7 separate regions of the Homo sapiens genome follow, and all the other regions are linked to region 7. The links are contacts of gene promoters, found by promoter capture Hi-C in blood cells and fetal thymus (Javierre and others, 2016). All regions are on one chromosome and are shown on one strand. Each heading gives the region's core, a stretch centred on a gene start or on the middle of the fragment in contact. The rest is flanking DNA. Distances are from core to core; before and after follow the strand shown. Region 1 overlaps RNGTT (RNA guanylyltransferase and 5'-phosphatase). Region 2 overlaps RNGTT (RNA guanylyltransferase and 5'-phosphatase). Region 3 overlaps RNGTT (RNA guanylyltransferase and 5'-phosphatase). Region 4 overlaps RNGTT (RNA guanylyltransferase and 5'-phosphatase). Region 5 overlaps RNGTT (RNA guanylyltransferase and 5'-phosphatase). Region 6 overlaps RNGTT (RNA guanylyltransferase and 5'-phosphatase). Region 7 holds the start of LINC01590 (long intergenic non-protein coding RNA 1590).

The links. The method cuts DNA at HindIII sites, captures the fragments that hold promoters and counts their contacts. A CHiCAGO score of 5 or more calls a contact.
Region 1: a fragment that was not itself captured here is called in contact with the fragment with the promoter of LINC01590 in region 7 in 1 of 17 cell types (naive CD8 T cells); the score reaches 5.5 in naive CD8 T cells.
Region 2: a contact is called between a fragment that was not itself captured here and the fragment with the promoter of LINC01590 in region 7, in 4 of 17 cell types (naive CD8 T cells, non-activated CD4 T cells, naive B cells and 1 more). The highest score is 9.2, in naive CD8 T cells.
Region 3: a contact is called between a fragment that was not itself captured here and the fragment with the promoter of LINC01590 in region 7, in 5 of 17 cell types (fetal thymus, total B cells, naive CD8 T cells and 2 more). The highest score is 7.8, in fetal thymus.
Region 4: a contact is called between a fragment that was not itself captured here and the fragment with the promoter of LINC01590 in region 7, in 6 of 17 cell types (naive B cells, non-activated CD4 T cells, total CD4 T cells and 3 more). The highest score is 7.5, in naive B cells.
Region 5: a fragment that was not itself captured here is called in contact with the fragment with the promoter of LINC01590 in region 7 in 6 of 17 cell types (naive B cells, activated CD4 T cells, total CD8 T cells and 3 more); the score reaches 7.9 in naive B cells.
Region 6: a contact is called between a fragment that was not itself captured here and the fragment with the promoter of LINC01590 in region 7, in 14 of 17 cell types (naive B cells, total CD4 T cells, total B cells and 11 more). The highest score is 21.4, in naive B cells.

Annotation. Positions count from the first base shown.
Region 1 is chr6:88,936,544-88,939,274 of GRCh38, reverse strand. All of the region lies in intron 2 of RNGTT (RNA guanylyltransferase and 5'-phosphatase), which reads left to right. Among named protein-coding and RNA genes, the nearest start is that of RNGTT, 26 kb to the left of the region's middle. The HindIII fragment of the contact is 2,921 bases long and covers 1-2,731 here.
Region 2 is chr6:88,809,912-88,812,611 of GRCh38, reverse strand. All of the region lies in intron 11 of RNGTT (RNA guanylyltransferase and 5'-phosphatase), which reads left to right. Among named protein-coding and RNA genes, the nearest start is that of RNGTT, 150 kb to the left of the region's middle. The HindIII fragment of the contact is 4,264 bases long and covers 1-2,700 here.
Region 3 is chr6:88,737,877-88,740,576 of GRCh38, reverse strand. The region is part of intron 13 of RNGTT (RNA guanylyltransferase and 5'-phosphatase); the gene reads left to right. Among named protein-coding and RNA genes, the nearest start is that of RNGTT, 220 kb to the left of the region's middle. The HindIII fragment of the contact is 154 bases long and covers 1,314-1,467 here.
Region 4 is chr6:88,917,460-88,920,159 of GRCh38, reverse strand. All of the region lies in intron 4 of RNGTT (RNA guanylyltransferase and 5'-phosphatase), which reads left to right. Among named protein-coding and RNA genes, the nearest start is that of RNGTT, 45 kb to the left of the region's middle. The HindIII fragment of the contact is 615 bases long and covers 996-1,610 here.
Region 5 is chr6:88,896,955-88,899,696 of GRCh38, reverse strand. The region is part of intron 6 of RNGTT (RNA guanylyltransferase and 5'-phosphatase); the gene reads left to right. Among named protein-coding and RNA genes, the nearest start is that of RNGTT, 65 kb to the left of the region's middle. The HindIII fragment of the contact is 3,959 bases long and covers 1-2,742 here.
Region 6 is chr6:88,855,883-88,858,582 of GRCh38, reverse strand. All of the region lies in intron 8 of RNGTT (RNA guanylyltransferase and 5'-phosphatase), which reads left to right. Among named protein-coding and RNA genes, the nearest start is that of RNGTT, 110 kb to the left of the region's middle. The HindIII fragment of the contact is 1,302 bases long and covers 736-2,037 here.
Region 7 is chr6:87,395,758-87,398,457 of GRCh38, reverse strand. LINC01590 (long intergenic non-protein coding RNA 1590) reads right to left here and starts at 1,334. Exons shown (of 2, transcript NR_026784.1): 1 at 81-1,334. The HindIII fragment of the contact is 8,043 bases long and covers 1-2,700 here.

The DNA.
Region 1 (2,731 bases), core at 91-2,590, 1.5 Mb before region 7:
TGAGATATAGGACACCAGAAAGTGGCCAAATATTCAAATTTTTGGTGTTCCAGAAGATGAAGAGAGAACAAAAGGGTTAGAAAACCTATTTAATGAAATAATAGATTAAAACTTTCTAAGTTTAACAAGAGGTTTAGACATCCAAGAGGATCAAAGATCCCACAAAAGATAATATCTAAAAAGGTCTTCTCCACAACGCGTTATAGTCAAACTGTTAAAAGTCAAAGAGAAAATTCAAAAAACATTAAGAGTGTCTAGTCATTTATAAGAGAGCTCCCATTAGACTAATAGTGGACTTCACAGGAAAAACCTTATAGGCCAAGCGAGAGTAGAGGATATATTCAAAGTTCTGAAAGAAAACGCCTACCACCCAAGGATACCATACCCAGCAAAGTTATTCTTTCTTCATAAATGAAGGAGAAATAAAGTCTTTCCCAGACAAGCAAAAGCTGAGGGAATTCACCACAACTGGACTGGTCCTGTAAGAAATGCGTTAGACAGTCCTGTACCTGAAATTGAAAGACTAGTAACCACCATCATGAAAACACAAAAATATAAATAAAAACCACTGACAGAGCAAACACATCAACAATGAAGGGGGAAAAACTCAAATGTTACCACTACACAATACCACCAAACCACAAAGATGAAACAATAAGAGAGAAAGAAAGGACAAAGAATATACAAAACAACCAGAAATTAATAAAATGACAGGAATAAGCCTTCACATATTAATAATAACCTTGAATGTAAGTGGATTACACTTTCCATTTAAAAGATGTAAACTGGCCGAATGGATATAGAAACACGACTTATCCATATGCTGCCTACAAGAAACTCATCTCAACTGTAAAGACACACATAGACTGAAAGTAAAGGGATGGAAAAAGTGTTCCATGCACATGGAAACCAAAGGTGAGCAGGAGTAGCTAAACTTATATCAGATAAAACAGACTTTAAGTCAAAAACAGTAAAAGGAGATCAAGAAGGTCATTATATAATGATAAAAGGATCAGTTTGGCAAGAGGATATAACAATTCTAAACATATATGCACTCAACATCAGAGTACCCAGATATATAAAGCAAATATTATTATATCTAAATGGAGATACAGTCTCCCGTATAATAGTAGTTGGAGACTTCAGCACCCCACTGTCATCATTAGACAGATTGTCAAGACAGAAAATTAACAAACATTGGATTTAAAGTGCACATTAGACTAAATGGACCTAACAGACATTTACAGAACATTTCATCCAGTAGCTATAGAATACACATTTTTCTTGTGAGGAAATGGAACAATCTCTAGGATAGACCATATGTTAGGACACAAAACAAGCCTTAACAAATAAAAAAGTCAAAATCATATCACATACCTTCTTAGACCACAATGGTAGAAAAGCTAGAAGTCAATAATAAGGGACTTTGGAAATTGTACAAATACATGGAAATTAAACATGCTCCTGAATGACCATTTGGTCAAGGAAGAAATTAAGGTGGAAATAAACCTCTTGAAACACATGAAAATTGAAACACAACATACCAAAACCTAAGAAGTACAGCAAAGCAGTGCTAAGAAGGAAGTTTATAGCAATAATTGCCTACATCAAAAATGTAGAAGGATTCAGATAAATAATGATGCACCACAAGGAACTAGAAAGGCAAGAACAAACCAAAAATTTGTAGAAGGAAAGAAATAATAAAGATCAGAGCAGAACTAAACAAAATAGACACTAAAAAAAAAAATACAAAGAATCAACAAAATGAAAAGTTGGTTTTTTTGAAAGGATAAACCAAATCAATAAATCCATTGCTAGACCAACCAAGAAAAACAAGACCCAAGTAAACTAAATCAGAAATGAGAAAGAGAATATTACAGTTGATACCACAGAAATACAAAAGATCATCAGAGACTATTTTTTTTTTTTGAGATGGAGTTTTGCTCTTGTTGCCTAGGCTGGAGTGCAATGGTGGGATCTCAGTTCACTGTGACCTCCACTCCCAGGTTCAAGTGATTCTTCTACTTCAGCCTCCTGAGTAGCTGGGATTACAGGCATGTGCCACTGCGCCTGGCTAATTTTTTGTATTTTTTAGTTGAGATGGGGTTTCTTCATGGTGGTCAGACTGGTCTCGGAACTCCTGACCTCACGTGATCTGCCCGCTTCGGCCTCTTAAAGTGTTGGGATTACAGGCGTGAGCCACCGTGCCTGGCCCATCAAAGACTATTATGAACAAGTATACACTAACTGGAAAACCTGGCAGAGGTGGATAAGTTCCTAGATATATGCAACCTACCAAGATTGAATCAGGAAGAAATAGAAAAGCTGAGCAGACCAATAACAGGTAGGGAGATTTAATCAGTAATGAAACATTTCCCAACAAAAAGTCTAGGACCGGATGCCTTCACCACCAAATTCTACCAAACTTTTAAGGAAGAACTAACACCAATCCTCAAATAATCCTGAAAAGATTGAAGAGGAGGGAATTCTAACTCATTCTGTAAAGCTAGCATTATGTTTATACCAAAACCACAACAAAAAGAGAAAACAGGCCAGTATCTCTGATGCAATGATGGTTCAGCATATGCAAATCAATAAATATGATACATTACATCAATAGAATGAAGGACAAACACCATGTGATCATCTCAATAGAGTCAGACAAAGCATTTGATAAGAATCAACATCCCTTCATGATAAAAACTCTCAACAAACTAGGCATAGAGGAAAC
Region 2 (2,700 bases), core at 6-2,505, 1.4 Mb before region 7:
GTTTGGGGTCTCCCCACTAGACCCTGCCACCTGCTCTTCCAAGATAGACATGGAGTAAACTCTTTTACATCTCAAACACTTAACACAGTGGTTGTCACTTATTGGTACTAAGTGAATGTTTGTTGAATGAGTGAATGATGCCTAAATTATGAAATAAAAAAGAATAATTAGAAATCTGATGAAAAGAACTTTTATTGTTCCATGAGGATGTGGTTGACTACTTCTTTGTGGATCTATGAAGGGATTTTGGTAAAAATAAGACTAACGGCAACCAAAATTAAGAGGGTATATTTTCTAGAGAAATTTTGTTTGAGATTTTCTAACTTGTCAAATAGGATTCACCAGAATTATTATGCCTCTTTTTAATTGCAATAATATTGGTTAATGAAAGAGCCAACAATAGTATTGCAAAAGCGATTTATATTTTGATTAGCTAACTTGAATGACATAGTTGTTTAGGCACTATTGGTAAATAGTGGCAATCAAGTCATTCTTTTTTAAAAGAAGATAATGATGTTGGCTTTGTGATGAGCAAGAAGGATGACTTGTAGGATTATTATTTACTGATTAGAAGGACATTCAGAGTACAGAAGCATTGAATAATCCTAACCTGAACTAGAAGTTAGAATTTGGGATTGAAAACCAATAAAGATTAGTATCCAGGGGAGTGCAAATTTCCATTTTTGGGGGGGTTTTAAAACTAAACCTTGGATTTGTGGGGAGTTATGAAAGCACATAAAAGAGTCAAGAGATAGAAGTTACTATATTGAGTATTCTCAGGCAATGAGTTGAGGCTTTGTGGGAATATCTGCTCAGAAGATGTCTGAGTAGAATAGACCAGAACTGAAAGGTGGAGGTAGTTTATTCTTTTTTAAGTATTCCATTGGTATATTTTCCATACTATAATGAATTGATATTGCCAATTCGTATTTCTAATAACATTGGAGATTGAGTTTCTTCTTCACTGTAGTCTTAAGCTGTCATTTTGCTTATTATTTTTAAAAGGCTCCTTTCTATGCTTTGTAACTTTGCAGTTTCTATTTTATTTCTCATGTTTCTAATGTCAAGCCTTTTGCATTATGTTTCTCTGCTTATGCATTTATAACAACTTGGTTTTCGGTTACATCATGATTCATAGACATAAAACATCAACTCAGAGTCAATCATATGGTAACCTTTGTCAGTTCCTCCAATCTTTGGTCCATGCTACATGCCCTCTGTAGGATATTTCAGATGGTATTCAAAGATAAGATTATGTTCATAAGTAAGCAAATTTAAGTTTTATAGGAAAAACCTTATGAAAAGTATCATGCTTTATTAAAAATTGATATATAATGTCTACTGTTTTACTTTTCATCCAATTATCTTCGAATTTTGTCTGGAGGGAAAATTATCAAGAAAATTGTAATTCTGAAAAGGATTGTATCCTAGTTTAGGGTGATTGACCAGATATTCCACTTTAAATTTCTCCAAGATTTTTCAATTAACCATTTCTAAATTAAGATTCTTTTATTTGTTAGAAGTGTTTTAAAAACATCTAGGGTAATTTAAGTAGAACCACGTTTCTGAAGAAAGATTGACAAGGAGAAATTGTAATTATGTCATCACATTTAAATGTTTTTACTGTCAAATTGAAATTAAGGTATTATTTAGGCACATTGGCCAAGGCTTATGTTGTTATTGGGTCCTCATATCCCATTAGCATGTCCTAATGCTGGCTTGGTTTCTAGCATTGGAAGGCAGTCAGGAAATATCTATCTCATGAACACTGCATGCAATTGTATTTTTATTGGGATGTTAATCAACCAGTGAATTATCTATGAAAAACTTAGCTTAGTACTTCTTACATTAGGATACCAGTGCAACTCATGAATAAGTTTTACTTTATATATAGAAAAGGAGAAAAAGAAACAGTAGGTTATTTTTTGAATGTAATATCAGACACAAAAGAATATCAAAGTGAGTTTAAAATTATATCTGTTATTTAAATTATTAAATAAAACCTGACTTTTCAAGTCGTGCTATTTTAAGCACATTGAGACTCTCTTTTTGACTTTTTGCTAACTCCTTTTTTTCATGGAGACTGTGCCTGACAGACTCTTCTCTCAAAGGCTGCCCATCATCGTTGCTGAATACACTTCCCAATGTTTGGTTTGACTTACAACCTTGGCCTCTCAATTTCTTTGAAATTTTCATCTCAGCGACTTAATTTTGAAATTTGGAAATTCATTCCTACCTATTACTCAGTATGCTAAATTTGGACATACTGCTTTGATACAACTTCCATCTTTAAAGGCAGCTGGGACATTTCATCAGCTTCACCATCCAGTGAGCTATGGCTGTTCCGTCTTCAGTGAAGTCCGGTCTTAGCCTTAGGAGGGGAGAAGTTGTTTTTATTGTGTACACTATCTCAGCCCAACTGGCTATTTTTTATATCTGAGATTATGAAATTCTTTACAGTTCTCCTTACTTTCTTAAAGTGGAAGTTGAGGTCGTTGATTTGTAACCTTTTTCTTAATTTTTTTTATTATAAAAATGGGTAAAAAATTTTTTTTTGCTTTTGTTAGGCGATATCTAATTCTGTTGCCCAGGTTGGAGTGCAGTGGTGCAATCAGGACTCATTGCAGCTGCAACCTCTGGGGCTCAAATGATCCTTCTGCCTCAGCCTCCTGAGTAGCTGCGACTTAGGTGCATGCCACC
Region 3 (2,700 bases), core at 141-2,640, 1.3 Mb before region 7:
GCATCTTATTCTTATTCTTTTCTTTTTTCTCTTTCTTTCCTTTCTTGTTTTTTTGTTTTTTTGAGACAGGGTGTCTGTTACCCAGGCTGGAGTGCAGTGATTTGATCACAGCTCACTGCAGCCTTGACCTCCCAGACTCAAGTGATCCTCTTTACCTCAGCCTCTCGAGTAGCTGGGACCACAGGTGTGTGCTACTATGCTTGGCTAATTTTTTAATTTTTTGTAGAGACGAGGTCTTACTATGTTGTCCATGCTGGTCTCAAATTCTGGGCTCAAGCGATTCTCCTGCCTCGGCCCCCCCAAAGTGCTAGGATTAAAGGCATGAGCCACCATGCCTGATCCCGTTTTCATTTTTTGATCGCTTTTAATTCTGCTGTTCCCTTTCTGAGCAGGTGTAAACTCTAGAGTAGCCCTCTTGCTTTCTCCTGAGTATTCTTTCCTACTTGTTTCACAGAATTCCTTTACTTTCTTCTCTTAGAATTTTCTCTTCCTGCTTCTGAAAAAGGAACATTGTGATTTTAGGAAAAATTTGTTTCTCTGGAAGAAGAGTAGGATGATATCTTTGGTGTCAGCAGAATGGAAGATAACTGATAAATGAATTTTATTGATTCCTCTAAGATGGTATTAATTAGTAGACATATTTTATGTATTACTTTAAAAAATTAATTCTGCTATTCCATAAATTATATCTAAAGGATAAATCCTCATGGGAGCTTCATATAGTAGTTCAAATTTTCTATTTGCTTGGTATAATAAAATTAAACAATGTTAGTTTAGATAAATGGAGCATGTGTTAACATATATATATATATATATATATATATATATATATATATATATATATATATATAATTTTTTTCACACCAGTTACACGGGAGAAATATATCCTAATTCCAAAGTGTGAAATTTGAACTGACAGAATTATAAACATTTTTAACATTTTAAAGTATTTTCAATCTGTTCTGTATGTGATGAGATATTTTTTGAGCCTGTCTTTGTCACATGTTAGAAAATAGTTCCTAAAAGCAAAAGCTCTCTAATTACTTTCTTGTTTTCATACATAAACATAAGTTTACTTAAAATTTTTCTGCTCTATTATTCCAGTGATGTTTTTCTGTGTTTCTGTATTTATTTAATGATGCTTTTGAATTTCTTTAGTGTTACAGGAAAGCTGTTTTCTCTTAGTTTTGCCTTCTCCCTTTGTTCTTCATTTCCCTTGCTTGCCTCAAAAAAACACTTACCAGCTGGAAGTGTTTAAACTGTGAATTGCTGGGTATTGGCCCAACATGAAGAATCCTCTAATTTAATAAGCTTCTTAGAAGAGTTCTTGGTTCCATAAATTTGCTTCACCTTTTGTCTTACCAGCTTGTTAATAATAAGAATAGTATCATTTGTGTGTTTAATGCTTCTAATATGCTTGATTTCCCTTGTATGTAGTTTATATACATTATCTCATTTAATCAAGCTTTTTAATGATTTCTGTTGGCTACAGTGAAAATTTGAGAAAGTTTTTTTATCTTCTTTATATAATTGCATCACATACATTAATAACATAAAGTATAAATTGGTGTCAGTTTTCTAAAGTAAGGAATAATTTTAAGATATAATTATTTTACATTAAGAATTTTAATTTAGTAATTATTTATACATCATTCATTTTAAAATTTCTTTTATGTGAATGCATTATTTCTTCCTGTTTTGGAAGGGGTGTGTGTGTGTGTGTGTGTGTGTGTGTGTATTTTATTTATAGACTTTAGTTTCCAGAACAGTTTTAAATTTACAGAAAAATTGAGTAGATATTAATAGAACAGAAAGTTCCCATATACACCTCTTGGGCCCCCCACAAACAGTGTACCCTATTATTAACATGGCACATTTATTACAATTAATGAACCAATATTGGTATGTTATTATTTATTTATTTATGTTTTGAGACGGGGTCTCACTCTGTCACCCAGGCTGGAGTACAGTGGTGCCATCTTGGCTCACTGCAACCTCTGCCTGCCAGGTTCAAGAGATTCTCTTGCCTCAGCCTTCTGAGTAGCTAGGACTTACAGGCATGTGCCACCATGCCCAGCTAATTTTTGTATTATTTGGTAGAGACAGGGTTTCACATGTTTGCCAGACTTGGTGTGTTATTTTTAACTAAGGTCTGTAGCTTATTCAGATTTCCTTAGTTTTTACTTGATGTCCTTTTTCTTTTCCAGGATCCCATCTAGAATACTGCATTACATTTAGTTGTCATATCTCCTTAGGGTACTCTTGGCTGTGACATTTTCTCATACTTTCCGCGTTTTTAATGACATTGCCAGTTGTGAGAAGCACTGCTCAAATGTATTATAGGATGCTCCTCATTTAGAATTTGTCTCTTGTTTTTCTCATAATCAGACTTGGGGTATGGGTTTAGGGAAAGAAGATCACAGATGAAGTGCGATTTCTATCACACTGTATCAAGAGTACATACTATGAACATGATTTTATGATTTTTGATGTTGACCTTGACCACCTGGCTAAAGTAGGGTTTGTGAGTTTTCTCCATTTTAAAGATAACCCATTTCTTCCTCCTTTTCATACTGTACTCTTTGGAAGGAAATCACTATGTGAAGCCTACACTTAAACACTGAAAAGTTACACTCTCCCCTTCTTAGGGTACTGTACAATTCTTTTTATACATTGTTGGATTTAACATTGGTAATAATT
Region 4 (2,700 bases), core at 54-2,553, 1.5 Mb before region 7:
TTTTTTGCCTTTATTGTATTATATTAAATAATTTTTTAGAGACCAGGTCTGGCTATGTTGTTCAGGCTGGACTTCAACTTCATCCCACAAATTGTAACAATTAAAATTGTCTCTAGACATTACAAAATGTCCCCTGGGGGGCAAAATCTTCCCCAGTTGAGAACTACTGAATCCTCGGTGCAGTGGCTCACGCCTGTAATCCCAACACTTTGGGAGGCCGAGGCGGGTGGATCACCTGAGGTCAGAGTTTGAGACCAGCCTGACCACCATGGTGAAACCCTGTCTCTACTAAAAATACAAAATTAGCCAGGCGTGGTGGCGCATGCCTGTAATCCCAGGTACTCAGGAGGCTGAGGTAGAGGTTGTAGTGAGCCGAGATTGCTCCATTGCACTCCAGCCTGGGCAAAAAGAACAAAACTCCGTCTCAAAAAAAAAAAAAAAAAAAAAAAAAAGAACTACTGACCTAATTAGACTGATCAAATAATTAGGATTTTTAGCATTAAAAAATTTATCTAGCTAGTGAGATAGAAATAAAATTGTGGGCCAGGTGTGGTGGCTCATGCCTACAATCCCAGAAGACCAAGGCCAAGGATCTCTTGAGCCCAGGAGTTCAAGACCAGCCTTGGCAACATAGAGAGACCCTGTCTATACCCCCCACACCCTCCAAAATAGTGTATGTTGAGATCAGGCTTTATTTAAAAAGATACATTGTCACCAGCCCCTTTATAAACTGCCCCAACATGTATAGCTATAGCTAATCTCTCTGTCTATTTGTTGGGGAGTTTCTTTCCCTAGTTTGATTGTAAATGCCATATACATTTATTTCATTATATTAGCTTGCCTGGAAAAATTTGAATAGAAGTTGCCTTGAAATAGTTAATTGTGAGCTAATATTTAGTTAAAAACTGTGGCTTACTTACCACTAGATGGACCCATTCTCATGATGAAGAAAACTGAAAATTGCTTTAAACAAAAACTGAAGACGTATCTAAGCTTGTAGTATACCTAATTAATGGATTTTTTAATATCAAATACATAATCTCCCACATTTTTCTATAGTGGTTTGTTTTGATGGTTTTGTAACTTTATAACCCTATCTATAAATGTTTTGATGTATAACTGAACCATTAGACTAAGACTTTTTGTATTTGCATATAAAGAATATTAAAAGGAAAATGGTACTTTCCTAGATTACATATCTTCACATGACATATTAGCTAATTGGCAATTATTATTACATTTCCTATTCATAAAAATATTTAATCTTGCAAGAGTAAAAATTGGATACAAAAACAGTAGCTTAGGTGAGAAACATCGAAAGTTGAAATATTTGTTGCTTGAATTGGTCTGAAATAGAAGATAGTAAGGAAATTTACATGTTGGGTTAAGATACATGAATACAAAAATGTGTTTATAGTGCACATCTTTGTGTGGCTTTTTTGAAGCACTTTTTCTTACAAAGCAATGGAGATAATGGAATTTATAGATTTTCTTGGTCATAGCTATTTATTTCTAAGTGATGTCTTCAGTTCAAGGCTGATCTCTTTGTTTTTTATTTTCTTCTTTCAGAAACTTAATTTCACTTATATCGTTTCTATTATTGTCAAGCTTTGTGGTTTAACTAGGTTCTTGTCCTGAGCCTGTAAACATACCTAAACTTGTTAAATAATCCCCTCCCGCTGAAAAAAACCCCGTACCCTTCTTTCTGTTTTGCATTCCCTCTTCCCTTTCTCAGCTGACTTTTTAAAAGAATCTATACTTGAATCCATTTTTTCCTATCCACTTTGTTGCAGTCTGGAGTCCTCCCTCAGCACTGTTTTTTGTTTGTTTGCTTTTTAAGACTGTGTCTCACTCAGTCATCCAGGCTGGAGTGCAGTGGTGCAATCATAGCTCACTGCATCCTCGACCTCCTGGTCTCGAGCAATCTTCCCACCTCAACCTCCCGAGTAGCTGGTACTACAGGCACTTGCCACCATGCCTGGCTATTTTTTAAATTTTATTTTTTGTAGAGACAGGGTCATACTGTGTTGTCCAGGCTGGTCTTGAACTCCTGGCCTCAAGTGATATTCCCGCCTCGGCCTCCTAAAGTGCAGGGATTACAGGCATGAGCCACTGCACCTGGCTAGCACTCTTAATCAAATAGTGATTTTCCATTCTAATCATTATGTGACATCTAAGCACTCATAACTTAGAAAATTTCCTTTACTTGGCATACATGACCCTGTGTTTTTGTTCTTTGAAGCCCATCATGGTTCATTCTCAGTCTTTTTTTTGAGATGGTGTCTCGCTCTGTCGCCCAGGCTAGAGTGCAGTGGCATGATCTCAGCTCACTGCAATCTCTGCCTCCTGGGCTCACGCGATTCTCCTGCCGCAGCCTCCCGAGTAGCTGGGATTACAGGCAACCGCCACCAACCCCAGTTAATTTTTCTATTTTTAGTAGAGATGAGGTTTCTCCATGTTGGCCAGGCTGATTTTGAACTCCTGGCCTCAAGTGATCCGCCACCCTCAGCCTCCCAAAGTGCTGGGGTGGGGATTACAGGCCAGAGCTATAATCAGCCGTGGGAGTGGTTTTTCTAAACTCTGATAATTTTATTGCCATGCTTAAAATTCTTTACTATATCTCCATTGCCTTTATAATCTTTAGTATGTTTCACAGGTTTTTTTAGGATTTTGACCCTTTCATTTTCTCCAACTGCATTT
Region 5 (2,742 bases), core at 20-2,519, 1.5 Mb before region 7:
TCCTCCTGAGTTTTTGGCCCTTCAAGTCCTTATTGCCTTTCTAATTCTCTGAGGTCTTCAAATGAATTCTTTAACATTGTCCAGCTTTTTTTTTTGTGGCTACAAAGTTAGTCTAATTAGGCTGGGTGCAGTTGCTCACACCTGTAATCTCAGCACTTTGGGAGGCCGAGGCGGAAGGATTGCTTGAGCTCAGGAGTTTGAGACTAGCCTGGGCAACGTAGTGAGACCTCGTATCTACAAAAAATTAAAAAATTAGCCAGGTGTGGTGGTGTGCACTTGTAGTCTCAGCTACTTATGAGGCTGAGGTGGGGTGGATTGCTTGAGCCTGGGAGGTTGAGACTGCAGTCAGTGAGCTGTGATCATGTCACTGCATTCACCTGCACTTCAACCTAGGTGACAGAGTGATAGGCTGTCTCAAAAAAAAAAAGCCGAAACCTTCTTTCTCTCTTTTTGGAGAAAGCAATTAGTCTTGATTTCTGTTATGAGTTGGTGATTTTTGAGAATATTTGTGCTTATACCTCCAAAGGCCGAATTAGGAAAAAAAAAAAGTTCTAAAACCTTATGCCTTTTGGTAGTTTTTTCTTTTTTCAAACCATAATTAGTAAATCCTAAAATTATTAAATATTTTACTCATATAAGTAATATATTAAAGATGAAAGAACATTAATCTTTAGTTTATTAAAGAAAGTTTGAAAACGAAAGAAAACTTATAATCCTTCAACTTTCATACTACCATTGGTATTGTTGTCTTTTTAGAATAATTTTTCCCTATTTACTTATTTATTTAGCTTTAAAACATACACAGATGACTTAAAGATGAGTTTTTTTTTTTTTGTAAAATATAAATGCAAACATCTAGGAGTATATAGAGTTAAAAGGCAAAATATTTCTTCATTCCCAAGCCATTTGCTCTGTACTTTTTGGTTATTTCTTTGCATATGCACAGAAAACATAGTATAGAAGAATAACTTAGTGTAGAAGAATATATACTGGGGAGATACATATATATAATATATATATATACACACACACACACAGTATATATACTAAAAATTATATATTGTAAAAATTAAGTCCTATATAAAAGTAATACTAGATATACTAAGAAAGGAAAAATTAAAAATTTTTCTATTTGAGAAAGCAAATAGAACCTTTCTTTAGAAGACAAGAGAGGCTATCAATCCATAAAATAATAGCAGGCTATTAAGAAGAGGAACAAATTAGAGATCTTGGAAATGATAAGATTAAAAAACCACTTAGTATGTGGGATGAGTAGCAGAATGAAATTATCAAGCTAGAGGATCTAGCTATGAAATCCTTCCAGCATGCAGCATGAAAAGACAAAAGAAATGTAAAATATGAGAAATAGTTTAGAATTAACTTAAAGGGAGCAATTTAACAGTATGATTTCATGGAGAGGACAAAATTCAATAAGGACGGAAAGTATTTATCTGAGGATTATTTTCTGTGGTGCAGTAGGGCTGGGTCAGACTGGTAATTTTAAGAAGCTAATGGAAGGCGAGAAAGTGGAGACTGAGTTGTGTTAGGGGTTCCCTGTACCACCCTCACTTCTGGAGATTTATTAGAATAACTCAGGACTCAGCATATGGTTGTACTCATAACTCAGATTTATACAGCAACGTACTAAGGATATACAGCTCAATCATAAGAGACAAAGACAAGTAGAGTCTGGGGGGAGTTAATGTGTAGGCTTTCTTGTGCTCTCTTTTTCTCATGAGGGGTCATCCTGAGCTCACTCTTCCTGCAGCAATGTATTTGTGATGTTTCTGTCCATGGAAGCTCATTACACTCTCACTGCTCAAGATTTTTATTGATGGCCGGTCATGTAGGCACTCTGTGCTTAGCATGTAGCAAAATTCCAGGATTCCAGGAGGAAAAAAATTTATTCAGCATAAACTGTATTTTTGGGACAAGTAATCTAGGTTTGGTGAGCCATCCTTATCAGTTGACTGAGAACACTCCAAAAGTCAAGTTCTCAGGTGCCATTCAGGAGCCAACTTTGCAAGCACTAGTGTTAGGTTAACCCTTTTCTGCACACTACTATAAACTATTCATTCAAGTGGCTTGGTTATGATAAAAAAAGGAGCAGAAGGGTAATTGATGCAGACATAGTCAGAAAAGGCTTTTTAGTATGGGATAAATTCAAGCATATTTATTAGTGTGGATAAGGAGCTAGTGAAGTCAATGAAGTTGAAAGTAAAGATTTGGGGAATAATGATAGAGAAATCTCTGAGGAAGTGCAAGGGAATGGAGGTCAAATGCAGTTTTTGGAGTAATAGGTCTTCAGCAATAGGAGGGAAATATCTTTCTTAGTACTGGAGATGTAATTGAGATTGTGATTTTTTCCTCAGTAAGTTTCAGCTGCCTATGTATGAGAGTGGAAAAGACTAACGGTAGGTTGACTCAAGGCTGGAGAAATTCAGTTTGGGTGTGATGAAGAACAAGAGGGTAAGGGGCACTGAGGCTGTCAGAGGAAAAATAATTGAAGTAATCAGCCATAGGTTCTAGGCTGAATAGGAAGTAAGGTCAGGATGAGGGTGCTGTTAGAATATGTAAAGGAGAAATGAAGGGACTGTTAGTCTTGGTGAAATTGAAAAGTGAGCAGAGTGACAGTAAAAGAGTTTATAGTGACATGTTAGTTTTAGAATGCTGTCGGCACTCAATCAATGTGAGTTGTATTGAATCAAAAGGTAGAGTGGTTTGAAATGATTGTGGTAGTGC
Region 6 (2,700 bases), core at 137-2,636, 1.5 Mb before region 7:
AAATGAGTTAATAAAAGTGCTCTTTTCTTCAGAACATAGTAATTGCTCAGTAAGTGTAACCTGTTGTTATTATCAGCTATGCATGAATTCCTCTGGAATGCCTTCCATGATCTCCAAACTCTGACAGGCTCTACCTTTGTAGGCTCCTGTAATAGCTTCTTCTTCACTGTTCTAATATGTATTATGGTTGGAATTATTTAATATCTTGTTTTCTTTTTAAGAGTGTAAATGATGTGAAGTTGAGAAGAGAGTCTGTGCCATTTGCTGTTATAACCCTAGCATCTAGTACTGCCTAGCATCTAGACTGGCTCCAGGTCGGCCCTTTAACTTATATTTTAAAAAATAATTGATTAAAAAATTTAAGAGAAAAGCCATAATAAGTTTGATAGGGGCTAGGAAAAATGGATAGAGATAGAGATGGTGGTGAAATAAATCAATGTAAATGATCAGCTTTTCTGTTTTTATTGCCCATCAAAATGCTCTAGTATGGAGGCTGTATGACAGAAGAAGAGGAATATCTGTTGTTTTGAAGCCACTGTGGTACAAAGAACAAGGGTTAGAATCCTGTCTTAATTCATTGCCACTTTGCAAAGGGAAAATGTTTCTCTGGGTCTGATTATAGACTACATTTCTGGCTTGGTGGCTTTTTTCCCCCTTGTAAAGCTTTAATTTTGCCCCCTGTGTCTAAAAGCAATTTGTGTTTATTTCTAAAAATTTTGAAAGTACAGAAAAGCTTAATGAGGAAAGCAAATATCATTGATAATTCTAATACATAGAGATGGGGCAGCTCTTACTATTTTGGTATAGGCTTTACTCTATATTTACGATATACATACAGTTTTGTCCTCCTCCTTTCCTCTGTAATTATTTAATGTATTCTGGTTTTAAACTTGCTTTTTTCCCACTAAATATATTGTAAATCTCTTTCCATATTAATGAATATTTTTATCATTGTTTAAAAAATGCTTGACTAGTATGCTTTTACATGAATATGCAATATTTATTTTACCTATTTGCTGAATGATGGACATTTGAGTTTTTATCCTTTCACTGTTATAAAATATTATGATGAACTTTGTTGTACATACAGCTTTGCTTAACAAATATTGAGTGCCTTCCTTTAGTGTGTATTCAGGTAGACTGTGCAAGATACTTAAGCTGTGAGAAGGAACAAAATAGATAGGATTTCTGCCTTCATAGAGTATAAGATAAATTCCTGAATTGATGATCAGAGTTGGGTCTAAATTGGTGATAACTTTAAATTACCAGGAGTTTAACGACCATTTTACTCTCAGACTACTGGGAGGAATGTGAATTAGGACTCTAAGGTGGTATTAGTTACCATTGTTTTCTGTCAGTTTTCCTTCTCTTTAATTATGTACTTCCTAATTTTATTAATGTATATTTGGTTGTTTTACTTAATTATATATCTCACATCTCAGCAACTGCTCTGAAAGATTATTTCCAGTTTTGGTAGAAAACCTGCATTTACAGTAAAGTAGTCTATACATCTGGCTTTTCTGTAATCCATATACCTTTGGTTTATATACTTTAGCATTTTCTATCTGGGAAACGTATACTGAATTAAATTTTGCCTTTTAATGGGAATGAATGAATATAATACAAATACCTATTGATAATTCTGAATATTAAATTTGCAGTTGAGATAATTTCCTAATTAATAAGAAATTATATTGCATCATAGTTATATACTAAGGCAGTATCTGACAGTTTGTGAGGTAGTTGCTTCTTTTTAAAGAATCTGGCTGCTTTCAGGGACTTTGGAGTGATGTGGAAATATTTCCACATTCCTTACATGAAATAGCTCCTTACTTTTTGTTAGTATCGCATAACAAAAGAACATATGATTTGGAATGACTGGAGTTCAAACTAAAAATCATAGCTCAGGAACTTGTGTTCCAAAGCCTGAAAATTTATGTGTGCAGAAGAATCCCTAAATACCAAGTGCTAAATAATTTCTCTGGTGTTTCTGCAGATGCAGAAGCTATCCTTTTGTAAATCCCGTCCTCTAAAGCTTTTTCTTCCTTAGTCTTTTAAATCTGTTTATACACATGTGTGCATAGAAAATATTTTCTTTTGATTGATACTCTACTTGATTTAAAAGAAAAGGTCTGATACTAAGATGTGTGTGTGTGTGTGTGTGTAAAATAAATACATCTTCACCCTGGGATAATACCTATTGTGTTTAAACATTAAATTTAAAATTCTCAACTTCTGGGCAGTCAGTGAAAGGGGAAATATAATTTCAGTTATCATTATTACATGATCATAAGAGTAAACCATTTCTTTTTTCTGAATTCTAACATTTATTAGCTTAAGTCAGCTTTTCTCAAATTGTAAGTATAGAATACCAATTCTGTCAAATTTTAACAGATATCAGGATTAAGTTTAGGAAACAATGGACTAAATAAGATGAACAGATTTATTTATATATTTTATCATAACTTTAAATATCCTAATATATATCTTGACGTTCTAAGAGAAAGATACAGTGGTTTCCTAACTTATTTGCCTTGAAATACCCTTTTGGTGAATATCAGCTTTGCAAAATGCCAGCCTAAGTCCTTAACAACATGATGGGTTGTGTGTCTTCCATGCCATTTTTGCAGATGATGTCATCATTGCTTTTTATTTGATCTTCCCTTTTGTTGATTTAAATTCCTTTTGAAACATAATCCA
Region 7 (2,700 bases), core at 85-2,584:
CAGCCTGGGAGACAGAGTGCAAGACTCCATCTCAAAAAAAGAAAAGAAAAGAAAAAGAAAGAAAGATAGTAATAACTCACCTGAATTTCTCGTCAGCACTTCAGGATCATGATCTCTAACACTCATCTTCTCTCTGTCACACTCAGGGTTGGGGTGCAGCCCCAGCTGAGGTCTGAGGACAGTGGGTGGATGTGGGGCAGGGAGCTGGAAGAACACTGGAGAGACAGCAGGTAAATGAGACATGGCTTTATTCAGCAGCCCCTTCACAGGGTCAGTGTTACATTTATACACTACACAAACACTAGTGGCTGAGAGCCAGGTGGGGAGCTGCTCTATGTTATGCCTACATGGCTGTGACTATATAAGACACAGGACTGTGCACTTGCACCCCAATCCCGCTGAGATGTCTAGGCTGTTTACCTCGGCCTATTCCTGCTACCCTATGCCTGCTTGGCTACAGCACAGCCATGTTCCTTACACTCTCCAAACCTGTCCCACTCTCTGCATTCTTTATGGGATGAATTGGCATTGATTTAATAGCTGGCTCAAACCTGATCCCACTTCCCCCACTCCCTCTCCCCTCACACTCAGACCTGTCACTAAGCCTGTCCAGCCCTTCTCAGCAAGTCTCACATCCATTTCCTTCCCTAATTACTAATGCTCTCACTCAGGCAGGTTATGGGAATCTCCTAACTGTATTATCTGCTTCCAGGCTGGGGCACTCCCACAGGCAAAGCTGATAATATTACTGCCTGTGTACTGCCCTTTCTGCAGACCACAGAAGGCCCTGCAGAAGAAAATTCAGTCCTCCTCAATGGGATGCAAGACCCTCCTGCAACTGGCCTCTGTTTATCTCTAAACCTGCACTGTTCAATATGGTAGCCACTAACTGATGAAACTATTTAAATTTAAATTAGCTAGAATTAAATGAAAGTTAATATTCAATTCTTCAGTTGTACTGGCCAAATGTGGCTAGAGGCTACCGTATTGGACAGTGACAATATAGAACATTTCCATCATTGTAGAAAATTCTGTTGGATACTTACCTTACCCCTACTGCACCTGAACTCAAATTTTCAAATGATCCGCACCTTTGAGCATACTGTGCTTTAGCTGAGGCAACCTCCTTTAATTGGATTACTTACCTTGCCAACGATGCCCTTCAAAACACAGATCAAATGTCATCCTATTCAGAGAAGCCTTTCCAGCCAAGCCTCCCACTCTTGTGCAAGTGATCACTTCCTCATTTGGACGCCCATTGCACTCTCTGCAGACTTCTACCATAGCGCCCCTAACACTCCATGTCACCTAGTGTTCATGTCTGTTTCCCTTTACTACAGTGTGAGCCTGGGCTGGGGTCAGGAACCCAATCTTATTCATTTTTCTAGCCCCAGCTCTAGACTAATGCCTGACATATAGGATATGCTAAGAACTAATTTTGTGAATGAATAAATATTACCAATAAATATTCTAAGGTCAAGATTTTATCAGACTTCAGAAACAAGAGAATGCCCCAATTTAAATGCCTCACTGACAGGTAAAAACTTTGAAGAGGAAATATATTTCCAGAATGATCATCGAAATACTGGATATGCTCTTTTAAGTCGCAATGTCATGCTAGAGTTGTGTTCCATTTACAACTAACCCACGAGAGGCATGACAATTGGAGTGGATAATTGAGATGGTTTGACAGGTATAGCGAGGTGTGGCTGACTGCACACGAAGGAAATTCCAGCTTCAGCAATTATTAGATACACACCTACGACATTAAAAGCATGAAGATTTGGCTAGTCAATTCAAATATTAAGTGTCTAGGCTTAAAAATATTTTATTGGGACATTTTCCATTATAAAAATAAGACATGCTCTTTATGAAAATTTGGGAGTACAAATCTGCCACCCATAGATTCATTAACAAAGGATTAATGTTGTTAACATGTTCATGTAATGACTCACCTTATCTACATTCTTACCATATCTTATGTTACTCCTTTACAGTCAACATTACAACACAGACATTTTTATATCTTATTATGGGCTGTATTTTTAATAGCTGTATAATATGCAATTGAGTGGATGTGTCATAATTTACTGAAGTATTCCCACTATTATGTAGTATATTTTCAAGTTTTCACCATTATAAATAACAGTGGAGTTATTTGAGTATAAGAATTTTTTGTATCGCATGTAATTTATTCAGATTCCCAGATGTGAAATATCTGAGTTTTTAAATATCTGCTTCATTTGCTACTTTATTCCTAGTACCTAGAACAATGCCTATCCCATGGTAGGTATTTTATTAATAATTGTTTAATGAATATGAGATGTTAATTAAGTGGAAAAAAGCTGGCTTGATATGTAGACACCAAAAGCATGTCATAGGCATGTCTTGTGACAGGTTCCAGGGAAGACTTTGTCCCCACTTTTAAAAAAATTAATAAATTTTATTTTTTAGAGCAATTTTAGGTTCACAGCAGTATTGAGTAGAAAGTACAAAGTTCCCGTCTATCCCTATCCCCACACACCTAACCTCCCTGGCTACTGACATCCTGCACCACGGTGGCACATGTTATAATTGATGAACCCATCATTATCACCTGAAGTCCATAGTTTAGGATTCACTCTTGGTGCCGTGGAATCTATGGGTTGGGACAAATGTATAAGGACAGGTATCCACCATTACAGTATCATACAGAATAGT